7 separate regions of the Homo sapiens genome follow, and all the other regions are linked to region 5. The links are contacts of gene promoters, found by promoter capture Hi-C in blood cells and fetal thymus (Javierre and others, 2016). All regions are on one chromosome and are shown on one strand. Each heading gives the region's core, a stretch centred on a gene start or on the middle of the fragment in contact. The rest is flanking DNA. Distances are from core to core; before and after follow the strand shown. Region 1 overlaps SUV39H2 (SUV39H2 histone lysine methyltransferase). Region 2 overlaps LOC105376449 (a long non-coding RNA gene). Region 3 has its middle 6.0 kb from the start of PIP4K2A. Region 4 overlaps ARMC3 (armadillo repeat containing 3). Region 5 holds the start of ARL5B (ARF like GTPase 5B). Region 6 overlaps PIP4K2A (phosphatidylinositol-5-phosphate 4-kinase type 2 alpha). Region 7 overlaps PIP4K2A (phosphatidylinositol-5-phosphate 4-kinase type 2 alpha).

Region 1 (3,488 bases), core at 750-3,249, 3.8 Mb after region 5:
CCAAGTTGGAAAACCTGCTGACAAGAATGGGAAAAGCAAGCAAGATAAAAAGCTTGTCAGGTAGAACTGAGCAGTGTGAGAACAGAAATAAGTTATAATGGGGCTGATATGCATGATTGTATAATATTCTCAGCTGGACTGGTCAGTCCATAGCTTGTAAACTGAGATGGCAGATGACTGGGGCTGTTTCAGGGGCCGAAGGATGCTGAGAGTGCAGGTGAGATGCATGGGCATAAGATCCCACTGAGCAGGGAAGGCAGTGATACTAAAGAACTTGAAAGAATGGGATTTAGTGACTGATTCAATATAGAAGATGAAGGAGGAAAATAAAGACTTAAACAAGATTCCCGATTCACTTATCTGATAGATTTGGTAGATTAATGACCAAAACAGTTCTTGGAAAGTGAGGTAGGCTATAGACAGATGAATTACTCAAAAATATACAGTTTAGATCAAAAAATCTTTTGAGAACAACTCTGCCGTTTTTTAAGAGCAATAAAGGAAGGCTTAGAGAAGTGAAACGAGTTTGCTTAAGTCCTAAGGTACTAAACAAAAGCTGGAAATGACTTTGCAATCCAGGCCATTCTATTATAACCTAGAACCTGACTAAATCTGGAGTGTGACAAGATGGCAGGAAATGCAAATGGTGATGTTCTTGAGAGTCAGTAACACTAAAATTGGTTTGAAACGGTAGGTTCATTTCAGGTGATAGTGGGGAAATACGATCCACGAACAAAACGAAAGACAATTGGAGATCAAACATTTGCTCTGGTAACCCACACGGAGATAATCAAGAGTTGGATGTAGAGGGATATGAGCACCTGAAAATATTCTAATGCAAGAACACTTTATGCTTCAAAATCCTCTCAATGCTATTTGGCAACACAGATGATAGGACATATAAATTTATCATGCCTTAGAATTTTAAACATTAAGAAGAGCTTTTCTTTTAATGTTCTTTTTATGTTACAGAAATACGAAATACTGAAGTCTGATTAGGTCTCTTGTAAGGGGCTAGATATTTGCCTTACCTTTACTACCTTGTAGTCACACAAGTATTCCACCTCATAATTGTTTAGATTCCTTTTGGTGATTCCAATCGATTTACATGTGAGCTTTTCTTTTCTACATAATTCCTGAAGAGTATCAAGTGAAACTAGGCAAGGCACACACCAAGCTACAATAAGAAAATAGAATTCTTTACTAATGAAATAGCTATTCAATTAAAACAAAAAAGAGAAACTTAAAACCTCTATTCCCCATCTTTCAACTGGCAATTTTAGACTAAAAATTCCTATGACAAGAAACCAGTTACATGTCTTCAAGAAAAAGTTAAACATTAAGGAACTATTTTGTTAAATTGGTGTTCTTGGATTTTCTCATGGATTTCTATTCCACTACGTTTAACTGACATCAGTTAATTTCCATTAAGTCACTTGAAAATGTTTCATGTCTGTAAGCTTTTTTAAGATTATATACAGATGCAGGTCAACAGAGATAATGTTTTTCACTTTCATTGTATTCTACATAGACTACAATCACTATTTTAATAAAATGTAAATCTCTAGGACACTTATTCTTAAAAACATATCTAAAATATACTTTAAAACAATCTTATAATTTGTTAACACGTAACTTTCATTTTTTTTAACTGGACAAAACGAACTGAAATCTAATTAAAATATATTTCTACGGTTACAAACTCATTATATGTTAGTTTTCTCTTTGATATGTTGCATGAAGCTTTAATTCCACTTATTATTCTACCCATACTGCAATATATTATCACCAAGGTGAATAAACTCCAGTTATTAAAAAAATGGAGTATATCGATATTTTGTAATACTTATGGACTGTACTGTTTTTAAAGCCAAACTTTTAAAACGGTGTTCAATTTACATAAGCCATGTACTAAACTCAAAGAAAATTAGACATACTCATCATCAACCCTCCAGAAACCAGAAACTAATTGCGTTCCAGAAGATTTCACCCTCAAATTTCTGTAAGCAGCATGTTACCACACTGAATTTAAAGTGTAAATTAACACGTTTAGGAAAATGGAACAAACTTGTTGTTAGGGCTAGTGTCATGGTAAGCACTTGACAAAATCAAAAGTCCTCTGCACTACCCATCGCTCGGTCACCGAGCTATGTGACTTTAGTGAGGTCTCAATCTTTTTGGCTGTCAGATTCACTGGAAAAAAATGGAGAAAACTGGTGTTACCAAACAAAATCTATCAGTAAACTCAAGCTTTACTTGGTAGCTCTCCAAGGTAGTTGCGATCACCTTTTGCGTTTTGAGGTAATTTCAGGGAAGGGAGAACACTTGTTAGTGGCAATAACTTTTCCGGCCCCTTTCCTCATCCTCCCCACCTCACACAGAAACTTCATTGTCAGAAACCCTTAAGCATAATTTCTACCATCTCACTGGCTGCAAACGATTCCATCCTAAAGCAGTAAAGACAAAGGTATTTTCCTCCAGAAAACGTGGGGGAAGAGGCTGATTGGCTTTGTAGTGGTCGTTTGGGGGTAGGACAGTGATGGGAAAGAAATGACCCCCTAAGTCCCTTCCATCTACAAAAACTAGAGAACGTTTTGTGTTAAGCTGACCTCATTAAGGGAATCACGTATAAAGGAGGTTCCTCTTATCTACTCAAGGTGTGTTTGTGTGCTTTTCCTAAACATTTTTATCTAGTTGAGGATTCAAAACACAACCCGCAAAGGAAATGCTCTTTGAAAATTAAAAAAAAAAAAAAAGTGAACATGAAAAACTGCAAACACGTGGTTAAAAAAAGAAAGACAATCTCTCGACAGTCTCCAGTAATGCAGAAAAAGATTTCACTGACAAAATTAAATAGTTCATGACCACCACAAACACCTTCCGCTGGTTCACAGTAACCCCTGACATTCTCCAAGGAGAAAAATTCAGGGATAATGAGGTCATAATCCCAGCGGAGAGGAGACGAGCTTGAAAACACCTTTACATTCCGGAACGCACGGAAAAGTTCCAGGCTCTCAAAGCGTGCGCGACACCAACACCCCCCGACGCCCACACCCACGCGCGCTCGGTGCCCAGTTCCCCGGTGCCCAATTCCCCAGCGTCCACAGAAATAACACCAAGCTCCCGGTGGGTGAAAGAGTTACCGTAAGCCAGAGGCTGCAACCTCAAATACCCACTTTCTGGGCGATTCTCCAACGAGGCACTCAACCTCCTAGCGTGTCCGCCTTGGGGGGGATTCCTCGCTTATCCCCTTTCTTAGCACACAGGCGCCCCGATTTACTCTCCCCCTCTGATATTAAGGTCATGTTCACGCCGGCGGGCGTCGCTTCCCGCCTCCCACTTCAAAGGCCCGGGCGCATGCCGCACGCCGCGCTCGAACCACCACAAAGGAGCCAGTCGCAGCCGTGCCCCCCGGACCTCCAACCGGGGACTGCCGGGGAGCGGCCTCGAAGCCCGAGGCCGCCACGGGAGACGCGGAGGGGGCCGGG
Region 2 (3,534 bases), core at 837-3,336, 3.8 Mb before region 5:
ACTATGGGTTGCTATACTATTTATTATTTCAACTCCATCTTACTCTATAGAGCACATTACAAAAGCTAGCAATAATTCTCACCTTACATGCCTGAAAGGTGGGTTTATTAATTTAGTAAAACCTAAGTAAATAATAACATTTCAATCATTCCATAACCCTCCTTGTCTTTTCCCATCAACACACTCCTAGGACACCGAAGATGGCACTGCCAGCCAAGATGTGTGGCATAGGTGCTCTTGTTTTCCCATGGTTTTCTATTTCTAAACATTGTTCCATTCACCTTTATTATAGACACTGACTCATGGAATAGTTACAGGAACGTGTCCATAGTCTCTCAGAACTAGGAACAGAGCACAGAAATCTCTGTTCTTGACTGTTTGTACTGACCCCTGGAAATTCTATGTGTTTCAGTGGGACACAGACCAGGGCATCCTTTTCCCTGATCCTGTTGAGGATGTGGAAGGAGTGACAGGAAGACTGTGGTCAGGAGTCTGGATTCCAGTCCTGCTTTTATCACCAACTAGTATCCTTTGGCAAGGTCTGCTTTCTGATCCTCACTTTCCTTATCTATATAATGAAGACATTGGATCACAGGATCATTTAAGGTCCCTTCAGATCTAACTTTTTATATGTGATAGATCATTTCTGATGGTGGTCATGAGAATCCTTCCTACCTCCTATTTTGTACCTTTTTTTAAAGGTACACTTTACCTAAAAGCTACAATAAAATGCATACATTTTGACAAATGTATACACTTGTATGTATACTGCCACAATCAAGGTACAAAACACTTCCATCATGCCAAAAAGCTCCCTCATGCCCTTTTGCTGGCAATCCCCATCCTCTAGCCTCAGGCCACCAGTGATCTGCTTTCTGTCACTATAGATTAGTTTGCCTTATCTAGAATTTCATATAACTAGCATAATATATATGCTCTTTTGTGTCTGGCTTCTTTCACTCAGCCTAACCACATTCTTTTTGTAATGTGCCTGTACCATCCTCCCATCAAGAGTAGAATCTGTTTTCCAGCTCCTTGAATCCAGAATGGCCCTCTGACTTGCTTTGACCAACAGAATACAATGAAAGTAATGCTGTGTGATTACTTCTACCCCTTGGTAAACCACTGCCATGTAAAAATGCCTGAGGTAGACTACTGAATTACTGAAGACCATGTGGAGTGAGAGGGAGGTACATGGAGGAGGACCAAGTTCCAGACTTGTGGATTAGGCCAACTTGGATCCTCCAGCCCCTTAAGATACCCCTAATCAAGACCACGTGGAGCAGAAAAGAGCCATCCTCCCTGACCCCCGCCTGTATTCCTAACCCAAAGAATTGTGAGTGAATAAAATGCTCTTGGTTTAAGCCACTAAATTTTTGGGTGGCTTGTAACAACCAAAACTAAAATGATGAGTCTTCTGCCCTGTCTTCCTTAAGGTCCAACAGAATCTCTTTCGGGCCCTAAGACTATTAGCTAACTATACAGGTGTTTTCCCTGAAATTTTTTCTACTTCTCTCTCTTTCCTTTTCATATTCTTCCTCCCTCGGGTGTCATAAATTGCATCTGAATTCTTGTAACTCTGTTTCATGAACTTGAAAACTGCAGTGTGTTTTTCTTCCATTTCACTTTACAGGGTTAAAGAGTATCAAATCTTTTCTCTCTTCCCTTCAGATCCAGTGTTCTGGCATTTGAATTACAGCATGTTCTAGAGAAAAATAGAGTGTGGGAGCCAAGAACCCTCATTTTATACCTAATGAGCTGTAAGGTTCTGGGCAAGTTTGAAAGCTTCCTACACCTGACTTTCTTCATGTAATCTCATGAGCTGGTGGAGAGAGCATAAACTGCAAAAACAGATGAGAAAGTCAGTCAAAAGCAAAGTACTCTTTATTTCCACAACTCGGACAAGTTTTCTGCAATGATATTTGCGTGCCCTCCGTGTGTCAAGTTCTCTGTCACAGGCTTGAACATGCAAGGTAAGGTTTGCCTATCACCAAGAAAACAAGATAAACACTATTTCTGCCTTATGGGCTTTTGCTGGAAGTGAGATCTCTCTCTTCCACTCTCTCTCTTGCTCTCTCTATGTGTGTGTGTGTGTGTGTGTGTTTTATGTTGCTGTTCTCCACAAACGTTTTGTTGTGGGCTACTGTAAGACTCGTTATGGTCAGGCAAAATCTGGATGAAACATTCTCATGGAAGGGTGAAAGGTGAGGTTTATATGAAAAAAAAATGCACAGGGCCTAAGACTTCTAGAAACTACCCCTAACAATAAAGGAATTATGGTAGTCCTCTTTTCCCAAATACAATTTTAAACGTAAAAATCACACTAAACCATAAAGGTAAAGAAGCTCGTTTCTAATTCGCACCTTGATAATTACTTCAAAGCTTTGTTTGAAATATCAAAATCTTTCTAATTTTTTTCTCTCATTTTTTTCTTGCATGTCTTTGTTTCTGTTGGTGTCTTGGAACAGAGAATCTCAAAAAATGATCCCTGAACCAGCAGCATCAGCATCACCTGTGAACTTGTTTGAAATGCTAATATGGGGGCTCTACCCCAAATCTACTGAATCATTAACTCAGCGGGTAGGGTCTAGCAATCTGTGTTTTAACAAGCCTTTCAGGTGATTCTGAAACACTTAAGTTTGACAATTACTGCCGAGGACAGATACTTGGGCTGCCTGTTGCAGTTTATCAAACTGGCTGTTCATTAGAATCTCCTGGGAAGCCTTATAAAATTATCAGTGCTGGGACTCCAATGCCGTAGATTCTAATTTATTTGGTCAGGGGTAGGCCAGGAAACCAGTATTTTTAAAGTCTCCTAAGTGATTCTAGTATGTCTACCAGCATTGAGTATCACTAGCATTTTAGGTAATCTGGCTTTGACTCCTAGGCTTGAGCAACTTGGGGGACAGAAGGGAGGAGCTCAGCATGCTTCCTCGGTTTAGGATGAAGAGGATAGGCAGGGAAGTAAGGATAGTTCAGAAGAATGTTTAAACAAGTCTGAAATAAGATACATTTAAATGTGAAATGTGGAAGGGGAAGAATTATAATTAAGCCATAGTCTTCAGGGAACATTTGAGGCAGTGAGCATTTTAGGCTGAGTAACAGGAAATAAGTTTAGAGAAAACCGGTGAAAGAGAGTCAGAGATAATACAACTGAGATAAATTAGGCTTGAATATTCCTTATGGGGCTGTGCTGTGCACTACAATCCCATAAGCTAACATTATTTACTCTTAAAAAAAATCCTGGGAAAGAACACCTCTATTTTTTAAAAAAATATGTTTAATTTTGCTATTCTCCACATTATTTTTTGTTGTATATTACTATAAAATTGGTTATGGTCAACCAAAGTCTTGTGAAGGAAACAGTCTCATGGAAGAGTGAAAGCTGATTTGATTATAATAGCTAATAGTAGGATTTGTGAAGTAATTTTCACTTACACAACACTCAACTGAAGAAAACCAGCAAGATCATTTTTAGGCTTTTTAAATATTACAGGCATAAAAAATAAACTTTTAGAAATGGATTCATTCTGG
Region 3 (3,358 bases), core at 212-2,711, 4.1 Mb before region 5:
TCTTCCCACCTCAGTCCCTCGAGTAGCTGGGACCACAGGCACACACCACTATGACTGGATAATGTTTTATTTTTTATAGAGGCAGGGTCTCCCTATGTTGCCCAGGCTGGTCTCTAACTCCTAGGCTCAAGCAATCCTACCACCTCAACCTCTTAAAGTGCTGGGATTACAGGCATGAATCACCACGTCCAGCCAAACATTTAATTTTTGATTGACTATTTACTATCTTTTTTATCAATCATTATGCATACTTGTAACATAAGAAAAGCTAACTCACAAATTCTTTATATACGTAATGACTTTTTAAATACTAAATTTAAATTTAATAAATGGCAACATTTAGTCAAATGTTATTATTGATATCACTTTTGCAGTTTTCTTTTGTAATCAAAATTTTTGTTTTCACATCTCAAATTTTTTCTAGGTCCCCGAAAAACGCATAGGCTGTATGCATTGGGAAGATGATGCCCAATGGGTAAACAATTTGTAAACTTGCATAAGGACTCTTTGCGAACACAGGAGGTTCCCTTTTTCCTACATATAGGAAAATGTTCACCACAGGCTTAGTTCGCCATTGCCTAAATCATACAACGACTATTATAAATAGCAAGGAGCAAGTGAAAATGCTGGTCTCTTATTGGAATTGGGTTAGTATGTTAAATGACATTACTGTGTTACTTATTTAACTAGGAAAGATAGTTGCATTAAAAAAATTATAAAAGTAACACGTATGCATCTTATAACATTTGGAAAATGCAGAAATATATTTTAAAAATCATCCATAATCCTAACTGCACCCCTGATATAGCACTGTCAAAAGTATGCTCTGTTTTCTTTCAGTGTTTTACATGCACACACATTTTATAATACACTTTTTACTTTTTAAAAATTTTTAATTTTTATTTTGTAAAGATAGGGCCTTGCTGTGTTGCCCAGGCTGGTCTTGAACTCCTGGCCTCAAGAGAGCCTTCCACCATGGCCCCCTAAAGTGCAGAGATTATAGGTGTTAGTGCTATTTGGAAGCTTTGTGCTTTTTAAAAAAAGCTTTGTGCTATTAAAACCATAGCATATATATGATATGTATCCTATTTTTTCACTTATATTAATATCATGATTATTTTATGTCATTACATTTTCTGTGAAAATATCATGTTTATTGGATGCATTATATCCTGCCATGTGATCTCCCAATGTTGAAATTTCCATTTCTATAATAAAGAAAACTTTCATATATATATAAAGATATATATGATCAAGATATAATGTCCTTCACACAGCTTCCTGTCTTCCAGCGGGGGAGGCTAGCTCAAGTTCTCATGTTGCTGCTTGGGGAGTGGAGAAGGTGGGGTGGTCTGGGGAATGGTTAGTCTGCGCATTACCTGCTTTTTACTCCATCTTCTCCCAGTCCAATCTCCCCAAGTCAGGCTAACCAGACAGGAGTCAACTAACTGGTAGATTCCTGGAATGGCTGCCACTGTCCAGGAAGTCCCAGCCAGCTACAGAAGCCAGAAGAATCACCATCGATATTTAAATTGGAGTGGAAAACCCCAACTGGCTGGCACCAAACCACAGCCAGTCCAGGAAGTTTAGCCAGACCCCTGGAACTCCCAGAAAGCAAGCTGTGCTGCATCATGTCAATAGCTTATCCCCCCAAAAGTAACTCACTTGTCACAGTTGAATTTTTAGAGCCCATTTATTGCATTTGTAGCTTACTTATTGCCTTTTGGCTAGATTTGACAGCTTATGCACTTTAAGAATGGTCTTCCAACATAATAATTTTGCATGGCAAAGCTCAAGGTGACATTGTAGAAGGATGAATGGAATTGTCTCACATCTTGCTCTGATCTTTTCATAAAGCAAGGAAAAGCACAAAGCTTCCAAATAGCACTAAGTCAAAAAAGCTACCACTTCCCTTTTCTCAAGGAAGAATTGGAATTATTCGATTGATAGTATTTTTTTATTAAAAAGGGTAATATAAAAAATCAGAGCATCTACCCTATTCGACCTCTACTTCTGGTCTTGTATACCTTAGGCAACATAATATTTACACCATGTAGTTTTATACTAAATAAAGTTATTTATACTAAATAAAGATACTAAATAAAGTTGATTATAGTAAATGTAAGCAAAAACAAAACCACAACAACAAGAAGCATAAACAAGTCAGTATTGGGGGCTGGGCACAGTGGTTCACGCCTATAATCCCATCACTTCGGGAGGCGAAGGACGGGGATCACTTGAGGCCAAGAGTTCCAGACCAGCCTGGGCAACACAGTGAGACCTTGTCTCTACAAAAAAATACAAAAATTAGCTGGGCATGGTGGTGTGCACCTGTAGTCCCAGCTATTAGGGAGGTGGGAGGCAAGAGGATCACTTGAGCCCAGGAGGTTGAGGTTGCCATGAGCCATGATTATGCCACTGCACTCCAGCCTGGGGCACAGAGTGAGACCCTATCTCAGAAATAAATAAATAAATAAATAAATAAATAAATAAATAAATAAAACCAAGTCAGTATTGGGAACGTTTTAAATCTTCTTGACATGTCCTTCTTTCTTCTTAGTGAACTTGGCTGCTGGAGCCTTTCTTCCATTTGTGATGGCTTTGCCATCTGGATGTGTAACATCCCACCAGGCCAAATGCAAAAGGATGTGGCTGTTGAGGAGGGCATGGCATTCTTCTTGACTGACACAACCACATGCTCTTCTTGAAGTCACACTCCCTTGATCTTCCTCCTAGAGAAGGAAGATCTATGCCTCTCTTCCAGACCTTTGGCGAATGTTGATGGTTTGGCAGCTTGACAAGGTAAGCAGCTTGAACCAGGTGGGCTGAACCAAGAACAAGCAGGACATACACTTTGTCTCATTAGCATGCAAACCCCAAAGGAAAACAGCGATCAAATTGCTAGGTGGCTAAGTCCGCATGTAGTATCTAGCCCTCGAGTTTAAATATTATGTCTAGCCTAATTTCCTAACAAAGTATTTCTGAATGGAACCTTGCACAAAACATTTTCTGGCTACGCAAACTTTACATGTAACTTTGTTATGAGAGATAAAATATTCCTTTTTTCTTTATTCACCAAAATTTCACCACGGGTGCTATGGGAAAGGGAGTATTCAGGGTTCACTGAGACGCCCTAGAAGTGGGTACACCATGGTCCTTGCCTTCAAAGTTTCTTATTGCCCAAGAAATTACTTATTACATTTCTCTAGATATCAATTGTCTATCGAATGCATACAATTTGAGAATTGGATTACACATTTTGAGGTCACTTTGTTCTTCTTTCCTTTTCTTTCTTATTTTTAGAGACGGTCTCACTCTGTTGCCCAGGCTGGAGTGCAGTGGCACAATCAGAGCTCAC
Region 4 (3,476 bases), core at 667-3,166, 4.3 Mb before region 5:
TACTTTTAAAATAGCTTTCGTAATACTTATCAACACATTTCAAGGAGGGTATAATAAACAAGAGGAAGTCCTGAAGAGGTAAGAAAATGATCCCAGGATGGCCTGGGGACATGCGTGGAGAGAGACTAAACAAGATCTGAATTCTTCGGTCTGAAAAAGTGATGTTTGAAGGGAACATAATACAATCACAGATGACATATATGAAGTAAATACAGTTAGTCATTAGATTCTAACATAAAGACAGGAGACACAACTTGAAACTGGAATGTAGTTATTTTAGAACTAACAAAAGGAAGTAGAATCAGAAAACATTAAGTGCCAGAAAGGATTTAAAGACTATCTGCTTGAATTCCTTTCTATTACAAATAACCAATTTCAACAAATGATGCTAGGAAAAATTTATGTCTACATGAAAAAGAACGAACTGGGACCATAATTTTATACCCTATATAAAAATAAACTCAAAATGGATCAAGACCTAAATATAAGAGCTACAGCTACAAAACTCCTAGAAGAAAACATAGGGCAAAAGCTTTGATATTTGGTAATGAGTTATTGGATATGACACCAACAGCAAACAGCATAGCCAACAAAATAGATAAATTGGAATGCACCACAATTTAAAACTTTTTGCATCAAAGCACACAATCAACAGAGTAAAAAGGCAAACCACAGAATGGGAGAAACTGTTTTCAAATAATATCTGATAAGGGGTTAATATCCAGAATATATAAAGAACTTCTGTAACTTAGCATCAAGAAAACAACCCAATCAAAAAATGGGAGAAGGACTTGAATAGATGTCTCCAAAGAAGATATGCAAGTGGCCAGTAAGTACACGATAAAGATGCTTGAAGTTGCTAATCATTAGGGCATGCAAATAAAAAGTACAATGAGATAGCACCTCACGCCCATTAGGATGGCTACTATCAACAAACAGAAAATAGCAAGTGTGGGCCAGGATGTGGAGAAATTGGAACTCTTGTGCATTGGTTATGGGAATGTAAAATGGTACAGCTGCTACAGAAAACAATATGGCAGTTTCTCAAAAAAATTAAAAATAGAGGACGGGCATGGTGGCTCACACCTGTAATCCCAGCACTTTGAGAGGCTGAGTTGGGAAGATTGCCTGAGGTCAGGAGTTCAAGACCAGCTTGGCTAACATGGTGAAATCATGTCTCTACTACAAATACAAAAATTAGCTGGGTGTGGTGGTGCGTGCCTGTAGTCCCAGCTACTCAGGAGGCTGAGGCAGGAGAATCGCTGGAAGCCAGGAGGTGGAGGTTGCAGTGAGCTGAGATCACACCACTGCACTCCAGCCTGGGTGATGGAGCGAGACTGTCTCAAAAAAAAAAAAAAAAAAACTAAAAATATAATTACCATATGATTCAGTAACTCCACTTCTAGGTATATATCCAAAATAATTGAAATCAGGGACTCAAAGAGATATCTGTATACCCACATTCTTAGCAACATTATTCACATTAACCAAAAGGCAGATGTAACCAACTGTCCATCCATGGTTGAAAGGATAAACAAAATGTGGTCTATACAGGCAATGGATATTCTTTGGCCCTAAGAAGGGAGGAAATTGTGACACATGCTACAACATGAATGAAACTTAAGGACATCGTGCCAAGTGCTATGCATTTGCAAAAGGACAAATGCTGTATGATTCCATATATATGAGGGATCTAGAGTCATCAAATTCATAGAGACAAAGAATAGTGGTTGCCAGGAGTTTGTATGAGGAAGGAGTGGGAATGATTGTTTAATTGGTATACTTTTAGTTTTGCTAAATGAAAAGATTTCTGTGGATGGACAGCACCACAAAAATGTGAATACATTTAATGCCACTGAAATGTACACTTAAAAATGATGAAGACGGTAAATTTCATAGTATTTGTATTTCACCACAATTTAAAAAGCAAGAATAGGATTGATTCCTTTTCTTCAAGCAAAACCGCTCCCCTTCTTGAGTTCTTCAGTTCTGTGAGTGGCACCATTTTACTTCTAGCTGTCTAAGCCAGAAACCTGGCCTCATCCTTGGTATCGCCTTCTTCCTCTTTCAACCAACATAGTCATTCAAAAATACTCACACATGTGCTGGTGGTTCTCCTTGCAAAGTGCCTTGAGCCAGTCCTGAACACCGCATCTCTGTTTCAGGGCACCTTCACATCTCACCTAGATTACTACAGCAACCCCCTTTTGGTCTTCTGTGTCTGGTCCTAAACATTTCCAATCTCTTCTCCACTTTGCAACACGAGTTCTCTTTCTTTAACAAGTGAAAATCCATGATGTTCCCTCCCTTCTGAGTAACTTCAATGGCTCTTTGTTGCCATTAAAATAAAGTCCAAAATCCTTAACTGGGCTTATAATGTCCATGAGCACTGGGCTCCTCACCACGTCCATAGCCTGAGCGCTCAGTGTTCTGTGGCTTTCTGGTCATTGGCCATTCTGAAAACTTTCGGTTCTGGAACTTACCATGTTATCCCTCCTCTGGCTTTTATACACCCTGTTCCTTCTCAGAACCACTTCTCCTCCTCCATCCCATCTGAACCTTCTTTGACCAGACAATTTATCTTATTTACTCTAGGTCCTAGCTTGTTAATCACTGATTTCAGAAATATTTTTCTGATCCAGGTCTGTGCTGGGAGCCTTCCTGGGTGATCCTGTGTTTCCATCATTAATCACTTTGAACACTGCATTGTAAGTGCCTGTTTACTTTCCTGTTCTGGGTGAGAACTCAGTAAGAAATCATGAGTAAACGAATATATACATTGTTCTGGAGAAGTTATAGTTCACTCAAAATCACTTAAGTAGGTCGTTACAATGCCAGTAGTGGAACTAGTACTAGAACTCTAGTACCAGGAACTCTGCAGCATACTTTCCAGTACTGTGGCACATGATGGGTAGGCATCATCAAACTCACCACCTCAAAATGAGTGAGAACAGTCTTAGAATGACCCAGCCACATTTGATACATATAAATACTCTCCAAAGAGATGCTGAGATACGCAAACATTTCAGGTTTGGCATTGTCCGTGTCTCCCCATTTTACTTCTCTTCGGGTCTCACTTAGCTAAGAAGAACTAGGATAGAAGGAAGAGAGAACTGACCAGCTAGAATAATGTCTAAGTTCCATTTGATAGAATACTGGGTAAACCAACTTTTGCCAATATGAAGAAACCTTGATTTCACAACCAGTCTCTCAAATAGGCATTTATAATGTAACTCATGAGGCCCCTCTATGCACACTACATACTGGATGGTGAAATCTTGCTTACTGCATTAAAGCTTTGTCCTGAAGAAATCCAGTGTGTGCTGAAAATGGAGTGTTTCCCATAGTATACATATCAATATACAGATGTGAGTATATATGTTTAGAATATAAATCACTTAAAATAGTCAATGCTGTCATCATTTCTAAAAGTGGTGCAGAAGGGGAAAAATAAGATCACATCTTTTATTAGATAA
Region 5 (3,179 bases), core at 576-3,075:
CAACTACTTCGGTAACGTTTCGATTCTCCAGCTCAGGGGAAAGAGAAAACTGGTGATTTTTGTATTAATCTTTATACCTTTAAGCATGTCTTAAAATGCTGTTTTACCGCTGGGCGCGGTGGCTCACACCTGTAATTCCAGCACTTTGGGAGGCCGAGGTGGGTAGATCACCTGAAGTCAGAAGGTCGAGACCAGCCTGCCCAACATGGCGAAACCCTGTCTCTACTAAAGATACAAAAATAGGCCGGGCGTGGTGGCGGGTGCCTGTAAATACCAGTTACTCGGGAGGCTGAGGAACAAGAATCGCTTGAACCCAGGATGCAGAGGTTGCAGTGAGCTGAGATTGCGCCACTGCACTGAAGCCTGGGCGACAGAGAAAGACTCTGCCTCAAAAAATAAATAAATAAAAATAATATTTTAAATGTATGGATAATACCCACAAAGTGTGAAGCTCTGCTCACTTTGAAATCATTTGATAAGTAATATTATCTGTGGTTACTGGATACAGGCATATACATATATATACACATGTGTGTGCCTGTATCTATATTTATAACCTTGAAAAAGACTGCTTTAGTGTTCTTATCAATCTACAGAACAAGTCAACTAAAGCCATTCCATTACCTCCACAACTTCTTAAATCCAGAAAAAGATTAGATACCTACATTAGCAGTAACAAATTGGTACCAACATAAAAGGAAATAAAACTGGCTTATTAACGATGCCCGGCTCTTAAATGTAAAATGAAACGAGTTGATTTTCAAAACTGGTTTCAATTACTAAGAAACCATTCTGTTCAAAGGACGCCTCAAACTTTAACTTATCGTCGGCCCCTTTTTTGGTCTGGGTGTTTTCTCTCTTCAGAAGACATCACATCTCATTCTGATTCAGAACAGGTTTTGCAACTTCTCGGCCCTTTGGACCTGCCACTTCCAGGTGTCTCATTACCTGTTACAGACTAATTACGGACACGTAACGTCTTACACAAAACCGAAAAGCATTTAGTTTCTGAACTAAATGCTTTAAAAAAAAAAGTTTACAATGAAGATGCTGGAAAACTCGTGCATCTGAATAGGACAACTCATTCCCAAGTCCTAGAGGAAAGGAGGCGAAATCAGAGTGAAAGTGCACTGGCTTACGGCTCAAACTGCAGGGCGGGAAAACAAAGCACCTACATTACTCAAAAAAAAAAAAGTTCTAGGTTTCTGGGCGGACACTTATCCTGGGGATACACATAGACACAAGCACGCTTCAATAAAGACGAGAAAGGCCCTCCATACGCCTCCTGGCATCATTAGCTGTATCCCGCTTTACTTCGCCAATATCCAAACATTCTCAGTTTGGATTCTGGGACGCCAAATACCTTCTCTTCTGCCTCCCTATTTCTCCCACACGTCAGGTCTCTCCTGTACGTCCTCCAGGTCTAAAACACTGAGTTTCTGCCCGCCCCCTGGCCTAAGTCCCTTCCTCCTCCGCGTCTCCGAACGCTCTGTCCCCTGTCTCCGGTGTCCCCATCGGCGGCGGGACCCTCTGCCTCGGATTCGAGCCGCCGCGCAGCTCCATTCTTCTCACCTTGGTTACAGAAGAGGCTCCACAGTTTGGCGAAGATCAGCCCCATCACGAGCACCGGGGCGGGCCGCGGGGTCCCTCGGCAGCAGGTGCCGCTGCGCCGGGTCCCCCACCGCGGCGCGGGCTGCGCGGAGCCGAGGAGAACCCGCCTGAGATCGCGCAGCGAGGGCACTGCTAGGCCGAGAAGCCTCGACCCGACCACTCAGAAGGCGCCGCGACGAATCCCCACCGGACAGCCCTTTGTTTCGAGCCCACTGAGCCCAACGCCGACCCGTAGTCCCCTCGGTCTGTACCCACCTACCTACCACAGCCTCTCCACAGCCCCAAGCCCCGCCTCCACCCCGCCTCCCCTCCGGATCCCAGGACCACCCATCGCCGGAAGCTAGGCGCGTGACGACGGCGCACTTACGGCAACCCACGCCTTCGACGTGGCGTTTTCTTCGGTTTCACTTCCGGTAGGAGAGTCCCAAACGGCCAGCGGCTGGGAATTTGCGGTATCGCGGGGGGGTGGGAAATTTCCCTTGGTGCGTGCTCCTTCTGATGTCAGCCTTCAAAACGTTTGTGGGACTCCCCTTTGATTTGAGTCTCTGCTGCTAGCAGCTGCTTCCCTGACCTCTAAAACCAGGAAAGACCATAGGTTCTCTAAGTGAGCAGCCGCCGTTTGCTGCTCTTAGAAAACTCACAGAAGTGAAGAGTGTTTCTTTCCTGACTTATTCCTGTTCCCCTAGGCAGGCGTGCTAGGGGTTAGGAGTTCTGCCGTGATTCTTCTTCATTCATTTATTAATCTATTCATTCACGTATTCATTCATTGGCTTATGCATTTATGTACTCATTGATTGATTGATCGATTGCAGACGAGGTCGGGCTGTGTTGCCCAGGGGGACTCAATTTCCTGGGCTCAAGCGATCTTCCTGCCTCGACTTCCCAAAGTGGTGGGATTGCAGGCTCAGCCACCGCGCCCGGCCCCTGTCGTGATTCTTAGTTCTGAAAAGAATTGATTGGGAGACGAGCCATGGAAGGCCTGGAGCCACAGAGTTCAGTTATGTGATTAATAATAACACATAATAATAACACATAGCACCCCTCTCCATTTTGCCAAGCATTAGGTATGTTCGTGGATCCCAGATCGAAGTCCACGCATAAGCCAATTCGCTGTGTAATTGTTTTCAATTCCACTTTCCATGGTTAGGTTCTAGCATTGAAAAGAAAAGCTTCACAGCCTGGCATGAAACGAAACTGAATGTCCTTGAAACCAGTTGACGGAGGAGCAAGCTTAAAATTTTTTTAGACTCTGACTTCAGTCAGATGGTTGGATTTTAACCTTGGCAACGTGGCCTTTTAACATGCCAAACTCTTGAGTTAACCTGTACAAGGAGAATGTATGACTTACGTCCTCCCAGTGCTATGGTTTAAAGACCCTTTAAGACTTAGATGCAGGATAATATGCTCCAACGTTACAACATTAAAGGCAAGTTTCAACCTCCTATGTAGAGGAAAAAGAATGTACTGACCCTATGCAAACTTAACTTTCATGACTATCAGTTGGACCATAAATGTGAATAATTTTGTGTTTGTGTAAGTAATGGCTTAAAAGGACATTTTTAGTCCTA
Region 6 (3,063 bases), core at 184-2,683, 4.0 Mb before region 5:
TCCTTTTTCCATTTTCATTTTTAAATTTTAAATTTTCTTTTTTAGAGACAGAGTCTCACTTTGTTGCCCAGGCTGGTCTCAAACTCCTGGCCCCAGGTGGTCCTCCCTCCTTGGCCTTCTAAAGTAGGGATTATAGGTGTGAGCCACCCTCCTGGTGCACTGTTTTTTCAGTCCACTCATTTCTGTCCCCTGCATTTTCCTTGGGTAAAGCCCCAGGCCCACTTTTGCCGTAGCCTTCTTTGATTTGCTTTAATTTGAACTTTCACAGGTAAAACCTTTCATAGGTTTCAAAGCAGTCGCACACATCTCATTTGCTGCCTTGAGATATAGCTGGATGATGCCATCATCCCTATTAAAATATGTGAGGGGAGGGCTCAGAGGTGTTAACTGCCCAGAATTATACAACCCTGGTCTCCCAACTCCAGCTTGCAGGGCTTCCCCACCATGACCAGCAGCTGGACCAGACCCTTTCTTGGGAATGCACACTTGACTACCCCTGAATCACTTTAAAACTCACCTGTCTCTGAAGACATTGTTTCTCAGCGACAGCTTCACTAGCACTGTTTGGTCTTATTAACCCCTTTCCCTTCTGTTGCCCTTTTGATCCTGAAATCTTAGCCCATGTTAAGAACGCCTTTCACAGATGTCGTTGTTACTAAGATTCTCCAATTTTTAGCTTTTTGTACTTACGATTTGGATCATTTGCCCACTCTGAGTATCTATTTTTACACGTCTTTTTTTTCTCCACACATGGTAAATTCTTGGAAAGTGAGAGCTGTGTTTTTCATTTCCTTAATAGTGGATATTTCTGCTAGGGGGAAGTTTAATCTGAGTGAGTGTCCAGCTCACCTTGAGGAAATAAAATAATTCAACCTTGAATATTTTCATAGCATTTTTAAAAATTATGAGATTAAATTTTCCTGAAAAATTTACGGAAACATGTGTTTTTCAAAATTAAGTTGGAAATATTAATGGCCTTGGGCATCTGCGGCCAGCAAAGTCATTGCCATTCCAGAACCCCTCACTGCAGGGTTTCCTTTCGTCCATTTATTAAATCTAAGCCCCATAGTGAGGAGAGACACTGCTGCACTCACCAAAAAACCACTGTTTATAAAATGCTTGGGCACTTCAGAGACAGCAGCTGTTTTCTCTTGGTATTAACACCGATCTGCAGATTGCCAGTTCTTCAGAATACAGACCTTTCCCAAATCTCCACTAATTTTGTTTATTTATTTATTTATTTTGAGATGGAGTCTCACTCTGTTGCCCAGGCTGGAGTGCAGTGGCGCAATCTTGGCTCACTGCAACCTCCGCCTTCTGGATTCATGCGATTCTCCTGCCTCAGCCTCCGAGTAGCTGGGATTACAGTAGAGACAGGATTTCGCCATGCCGGCCAGGCTGGTCTCGAACTCCTGGCCTCAAGTGATCCACCCACCTCAGCCTCCCGAAGTGCTGGGATTACAGGGGTGAGCCACCATGCCCGATCCCAAATCTCCACTAACTTTAGGTGCGTAGGATGGACTGAGCAATTTTGGAAATTCCAAAGCACCAGGGCCCTACCTCCTTTCTTCTGTCTGCCTCCCCTGCCTTCCCAGTGTGCATCTGCTGAATTGAATCATTAAGAGAAAGATTAAGATGAGTGGAAGGTGAGCCTGTTGTTGCTGACAGTTCACTTTCCCCAGTGAAACTGTCAGGAAGACAAAGAGATGTTGAAGTTTTAGAGTAAGTGGCCCAGGGTCTTACGGTATCCTGCAGTGTGACACTGGGTAGAAAGAGGTGGAGGAGAAGGAAGGAAGTGGCCTGGCTTGGCTGTCATGCACTGCCTTCCTTCATTTCCTTACCTCCCACGTACTGCCCCCCACCTGAGGCAAGAGGGGAGGAGTTTTCACCTTTTCCATATCTTCTTCTTTATTCTTTGAAACTATTTTTCTTCTTAGAGTTGTCTTTGGTAGAGTGGCCCTTAACTTAGTGTACAGTATGATTCATACCCCCGGGGGTGGTCCTTTCTCATAAACCCTTCTTTCTTTTTTTTGAGATACTCTGTTGCCCAGACCGGAGTGCAGCAGCACCATCATAGCTCACTGCAACCTCAAACTTACGGGCTCGAGCCATCCTCCCACATCAGCCTCCTGAGCAGCTCAGACTGAAGGTGTGTACCACCACTCTCAGCTTATTTTTGTGGTTTTGTGGAGATGGGGGTCTCATTATGTTACTCAGGCTGGTCTCAAACTACTGGGCTCGAGTGATCCTCAAGCCTCAGCCTCCCAAAGCTCTGGGCTTGTAGGCGTGAGCCACTGCGATGGACCCTTCATAAACGTTTCAAGCAGCATTGAACCAGAACAAGGAGCAGCGTTTTCAGTTGGGAATTCATTGTGTATTTTTCATTAAGAACATAACATTTCTTAACTTAGATGTTTGTGTAACCTGAGTTGCAAGATGAATTTACCACACAGTGACAGACTTTAAATTTTTGGTTTTAATACACATTTGCGTATTTTAAAAGCAAATGTACCTTCAGCCTGTGAAATAATATGCTAGATAATTACAGGTACTTTGACTTCAGTTATGTCTTAGATTTATTATAACTACAGTGTTGATTACTACGAAGACATTGCTTTGCAGAGGGAGATGTCTCAAAATGTCACAATTCAGTGTTTTATTATCAGACAGTTGCTAAAGTGGATAGTTAAAAATTGAGGCCTGGCATGGTGGCTCACACTTGTAATCCCTGTACTTTGGGAGGATGAGGCAGGCGGATCACTTGAGGTCAGGAGTTCAATACCAGCCTGGGCAACATGGTGAAACCCTGTCTCTACTAAAAATACCAAAAAAATAGGCATGGTGGTGCGCACCTGTAGTCCCAGCTACTCGGGAGACTGAGGCAGGAGAATCGCTTGGCTTGAACCTAGGAGGCAGAGGTTGCAGTGAGCCAAGACCATGCCGCTGCACTCCAGCCTGGGTGACAGAGTAAGAGTCTGTCTCAAAAAAAAAAAAATTTGTGTGCAGTTTTTCAGTTATTTCATGACTATTAGTGGTTATTCAACACAAATTAAGCACTGTATC
Region 7 (3,224 bases), core at 661-3,160, 3.9 Mb before region 5:
TTTTTTTTGAGAAAGAGTCTTCCTCTGTTGCTCAGTCTGGAGCGCAGTGGCTCAATCTTGGCTCATGGCAACCTCTGCCCCACTGGCTCAAGCAGTCCTCCCACGTAGCTGGGACCACAGGCACGCACCACCATGCTCAGCTAATTTTTTGTATTTTTTGGTGGAGACAGGATTTCACCATGTTGCCCAGGCTGATCTTGAACTCCTGAGCTCAAGCAATCCACCCACCTTGGCCTTCCAAAGTGCTGGGATTATAGGCATGAACCACCGCGGCTGGCTGGGCCAATTTTATAAATACATTTTTATTGGAATACCACGATGCCCCTTGTTTCTGTATTGTCTGTTACTGCTTTTGCACTGTAATGGCAGAGTTTGGTAGTTACCGCAGAGACCATTTGGGACCACAAAGCCTAAAACGTTTACCCACTGACTGTTTGCAGAAAAGTTTGCCAAACTCTGGTCTCTGACATTTGGTTCTCAAGTTTTTTGGTCTCAACGCTTTCACGCTCTTACAAGAGGACACTCGAAAGCTTTTGCAGATGTGAGTTGTGTCTGTGGATATTTACAGTATTAAAAATTAATATAAGAAATATTAGAATATGTAGTTTCTTTAAAAATGAGAAAAACATTACATGTTAACATTTTTATGAAAAATAACTATTTTCCAAAAGCAAAAACATGAATGAGACAAGTAGCATTGTTTTACATTTTTGCAAATCTCCGTAATGTCTTGACTTAATGTGAGATAGTTGGAATGTCCTGTCTGATTCCGCTGTCAGTCTGTGTGGTGTTATGCCGCTGAAGTATGTGAAGAAAATCTGAACTCACACAATAATGAAGTTTGGAAAGTTGTTAAAGCATGTTTTAACAACTTTTTTGGATAATTGTAGATATTCTTCTTTGATACTACACCAAAGCTTGACAAGAGGTAATTTCTCAAAGCTTAGTTACATTATGAAATCTGAAATCATATCAATGAACTTTTTGTACTCTTCATCGAAATCCATTGATTGGTTTGCATGCATTGTTTGAATGTGTGATTTTGCCAAGGCATGCACTTGCCATTTGGAACACATTGGTTCACTGAGTTATTTGACTCTTCCAAATATTGACACATTTCATTATACAGTATCAAAAAGTCATAACAGTGTTACCACCAATGTCATCAGAAAAGTCTTTTACATATTGGGAAGCGGTCAGGCCCAGGATGGTGGATATAAGTTTTTTAAAAATCAGTTTTTTACTTGGAATCTCAAATTTTATCACTGGCCACAAGCCCTGTCAGTTGTTTTCTGTGAAATGACCACATGTAGCAAGCACCCCAGCATACAGGGGAGCCTAGCAGCTTCATTCATTTTGTAGCAAACATCAGTCACATGCCCAGATCTAAATAAACATAGACTGTCAGTTGTTCTTTCAAGTAAAAGTGTTGTTTCATGAAAAAGATGGCCAGTTCAACTCATAACTCAAACCGTCACGAAAACAGTTCTTAAGAAATCATTCCTTCTTTATAAACAGAAGTGCTTTATGTATATTTCCTGCACAGAATATTGAAAAGACGTGTACTCCTGGGTCTAGATTTGATACATTTAATGTTATGCTTTCATGTGTTTACTAGATGCCTACTTGTATGACACACCATCTTAGCCAGAAGTTCAGCAACTCGTACACAGCTCACAAGTCACAAAAACCAGGATGTGTGGCTTCAGAGGTTTCTGAAATGACGCTGGGTTTCTTAGATGGTGCTGGTTTTTTTCATTGTTTTTTTTTTTTAAATCACAAACACTACTAATACCCACTGTTGCCACTGTTTGACTTATGCTAAACTGCTAGCAGTTCTTCCCACCATTGTTTTTGCATTATTTATACAAATATCAAGACGCTGAAAAAGGCAAATAATTTCTCAGTATTATTATAAAAATAGTTTTGGCTTTGTATAGTTTTGGTCTTGGGACCCCAGGGTTCTGAACCATGCTTAGAGAAATGCTAGTCTAAGTGAAGGAAATGGTCTGGGCTTGTCTCCTAACCTCTGAAGTCCCCACACACTGGATCCACTTCCCAAATACACCCTTGTCCTGTCCTGTCTTAAAGTCTTCGCCCAAGCAAGCCATTTTGTGCCCCTGGAATTGCCCCTGGGGAAATCCCAGCCATCCTCCAGGGCCCTTGCCAGCACCAGCTCTTTTCGTGAAGCCTTGGCGGTACTGCTCAGAGCACACAGGACTCTGTCTGACTTCCCCAGGGAAGAAAGCCAGAGTGACCTCTAAAGTCACATGTTGTTCTTTTATGACTTGTTAACCTTGTGTAAGTTGCTGAACCTCTATGACCCTCCGTCTCTTCATCTGTTAAAATAGGGATAATTTTACCTACATTTGCAGGGATGTTTTGAGAATTAAATAAGATACATATGTATTGTGTCCAGCGTGAGGCATGGCATATGGGAGTTAATGAATCTTGGTTGCCTCATTCATTCTCCTGATGTGTAAGTGCCTCAAGGGCAAGTATGTTCTTCTACTTAACTTTTTTTTTTTTAATCCCCCTGCAATGCCTAAGATAGCGCCTCGGACAAGTAGGCATCTGGTAAACATATCTTGGAGTAAATTATACTTAGAGATTGGATATTCTAGTTTTAATTTGCCTTGCTTTTTTCACAGTTTCATCTCCCTTTCTGGCTTGTGGCATAGATAAACTCTGTTCTTGCCAGTGCTCTCAGTTGTGATGGAACCTGTACATCTGGCATTGTTTCATGGCTTAAACTCTTGGCCTTCCTTTTCTATTTTTTTTAATAATTTTTTATTGTGAATTAATTTAAACTTGGATGAGTTTTGTGTTTTGTTGTTCCCAAGCTAATGATCAGCATTTGCATACAGATGAAGCTTCCCTGAGAATCAGAAGCAGGGTGGATTATATTGTAGGAGAGGAAACACACACACAGACACAGACAGACACACACACACACAGACACACACACCCCAAGAACTTGGTTAAGAATTCAAAGTAGAATAGTTTCTTCCTGTTCCCAGCATCATAGGCAGTGCTCAAGTATTACAAATGTCCCATTTTTAAAAAGTATTTGGGAACATTCGTTGTGAAAAATCAGTGTGTAAAGGAAGGTACTTCTGGTCCATATTCAGGAATCCCTAAAGGAAGGAAAGTAGACCATGGCAAGTAACAGTTGCTGGGCATGGCTGTGCAGAGGGGCTCGGACTGTGGTCGTAGAATGGGTT

The links. The method cuts DNA at HindIII sites, captures the fragments that hold promoters and counts their contacts. A CHiCAGO score of 5 or more calls a contact.
Region 1: a contact is called between a fragment that was not itself captured here and the fragment with the promoter of ARL5B in region 5, in 1 of 17 cell types (erythroblasts). The highest score is 5.7, in erythroblasts.
Region 2: a contact is called between a fragment that was not itself captured here and the fragment with the promoter of ARL5B in region 5, in 2 of 17 cell types (activated CD4 T cells and naive CD8 T cells). The highest score is 6.5, in activated CD4 T cells.
Region 3: a fragment that was not itself captured here is called in contact with the fragment with the promoter of ARL5B in region 5 in 1 of 17 cell types (total B cells); the score reaches 7.8 in total B cells.
Region 4: a fragment that was not itself captured here is called in contact with the fragment with the promoter of ARL5B in region 5 in 1 of 17 cell types (neutrophils); the score reaches 6.7 in neutrophils.
Region 6: a contact is called between a fragment that was not itself captured here and the fragment with the promoter of ARL5B in region 5, in 2 of 17 cell types (activated CD4 T cells and total B cells). The highest score is 8.6, in activated CD4 T cells.
Region 7: a contact is called between a fragment that was not itself captured here and the fragment with the promoter of ARL5B in region 5, in 2 of 17 cell types (naive CD8 T cells and neutrophils). The highest score is 8.6, in naive CD8 T cells.

Annotation. Positions count from the first base shown.
Region 1 is chr10:14,879,189-14,882,676 of GRCh38, reverse strand. It overlaps SUV39H2 (SUV39H2 histone lysine methyltransferase), which reads right to left. Exons shown (of 6, transcript NM_001193424.2): 2 at 1,032-1,177. Among named protein-coding and RNA genes, the nearest start is that of SUV39H2, 2.1 kb to the right of the region's middle. RefSeq lists a silencer at 3,338-3,488. The HindIII fragment of the contact is 507 bases long and covers 1,746-2,252 here.
Region 2 is chr10:22,439,632-22,443,165 of GRCh38, reverse strand. All of the region lies in intron 1 of LOC105376449 (a long non-coding RNA gene), which reads right to left. Among named protein-coding and RNA genes, the nearest start is that of LINC03027, 3.5 kb to the right of the region's middle. The HindIII fragment of the contact is 597 bases long and covers 1,788-2,384 here.
Region 3 is chr10:22,718,943-22,722,300 of GRCh38, reverse strand. No RefSeq gene overlaps it. Among named protein-coding and RNA genes, the nearest start is that of PIP4K2A, 6.0 kb to the right of the region's middle. The HindIII fragment of the contact is 830 bases long and covers 1,047-1,876 here.
Region 4 is chr10:22,969,329-22,972,804 of GRCh38, reverse strand. All of the region lies in intron 8 of ARMC3 (armadillo repeat containing 3), which reads right to left. Among named protein-coding and RNA genes, the nearest start is that of ARMC3, 43 kb to the right of the region's middle. The HindIII fragment of the contact is 2,764 bases long and covers 535-3,298 here.
Region 5 is chr10:18,658,077-18,661,255 of GRCh38, reverse strand. It overlaps ARL5B (ARF like GTPase 5B), which reads right to left and starts at 1,825. Exons shown (of 6, transcript NM_178815.5): 1 at 1,573-1,825. The coding sequence starts at 1,618. It also overlaps a transcript of NSUN6 not described here. RefSeq lists a silencer at 1,657-1,736 and enhancers at 2,047-2,176, 2,877-2,996. The HindIII fragment of the contact is 6,724 bases long and covers 1-2,782 here.
Region 6 is chr10:22,652,055-22,655,117 of GRCh38, reverse strand. All of the region lies in intron 1 of PIP4K2A (phosphatidylinositol-5-phosphate 4-kinase type 2 alpha), which reads left to right. Among named protein-coding and RNA genes, the nearest start is that of PIP4K2A, 61 kb to the left of the region's middle. The HindIII fragment of the contact is 9,843 bases long and covers 1-3,063 here.
Region 7 is chr10:22,569,389-22,572,612 of GRCh38, reverse strand. All of the region lies in intron 5 of PIP4K2A (phosphatidylinositol-5-phosphate 4-kinase type 2 alpha), which reads left to right. Among named protein-coding and RNA genes, the nearest start is that of LINC03027, 130 kb to the right of the region's middle. The HindIII fragment of the contact is 1,931 bases long and covers 945-2,875 here.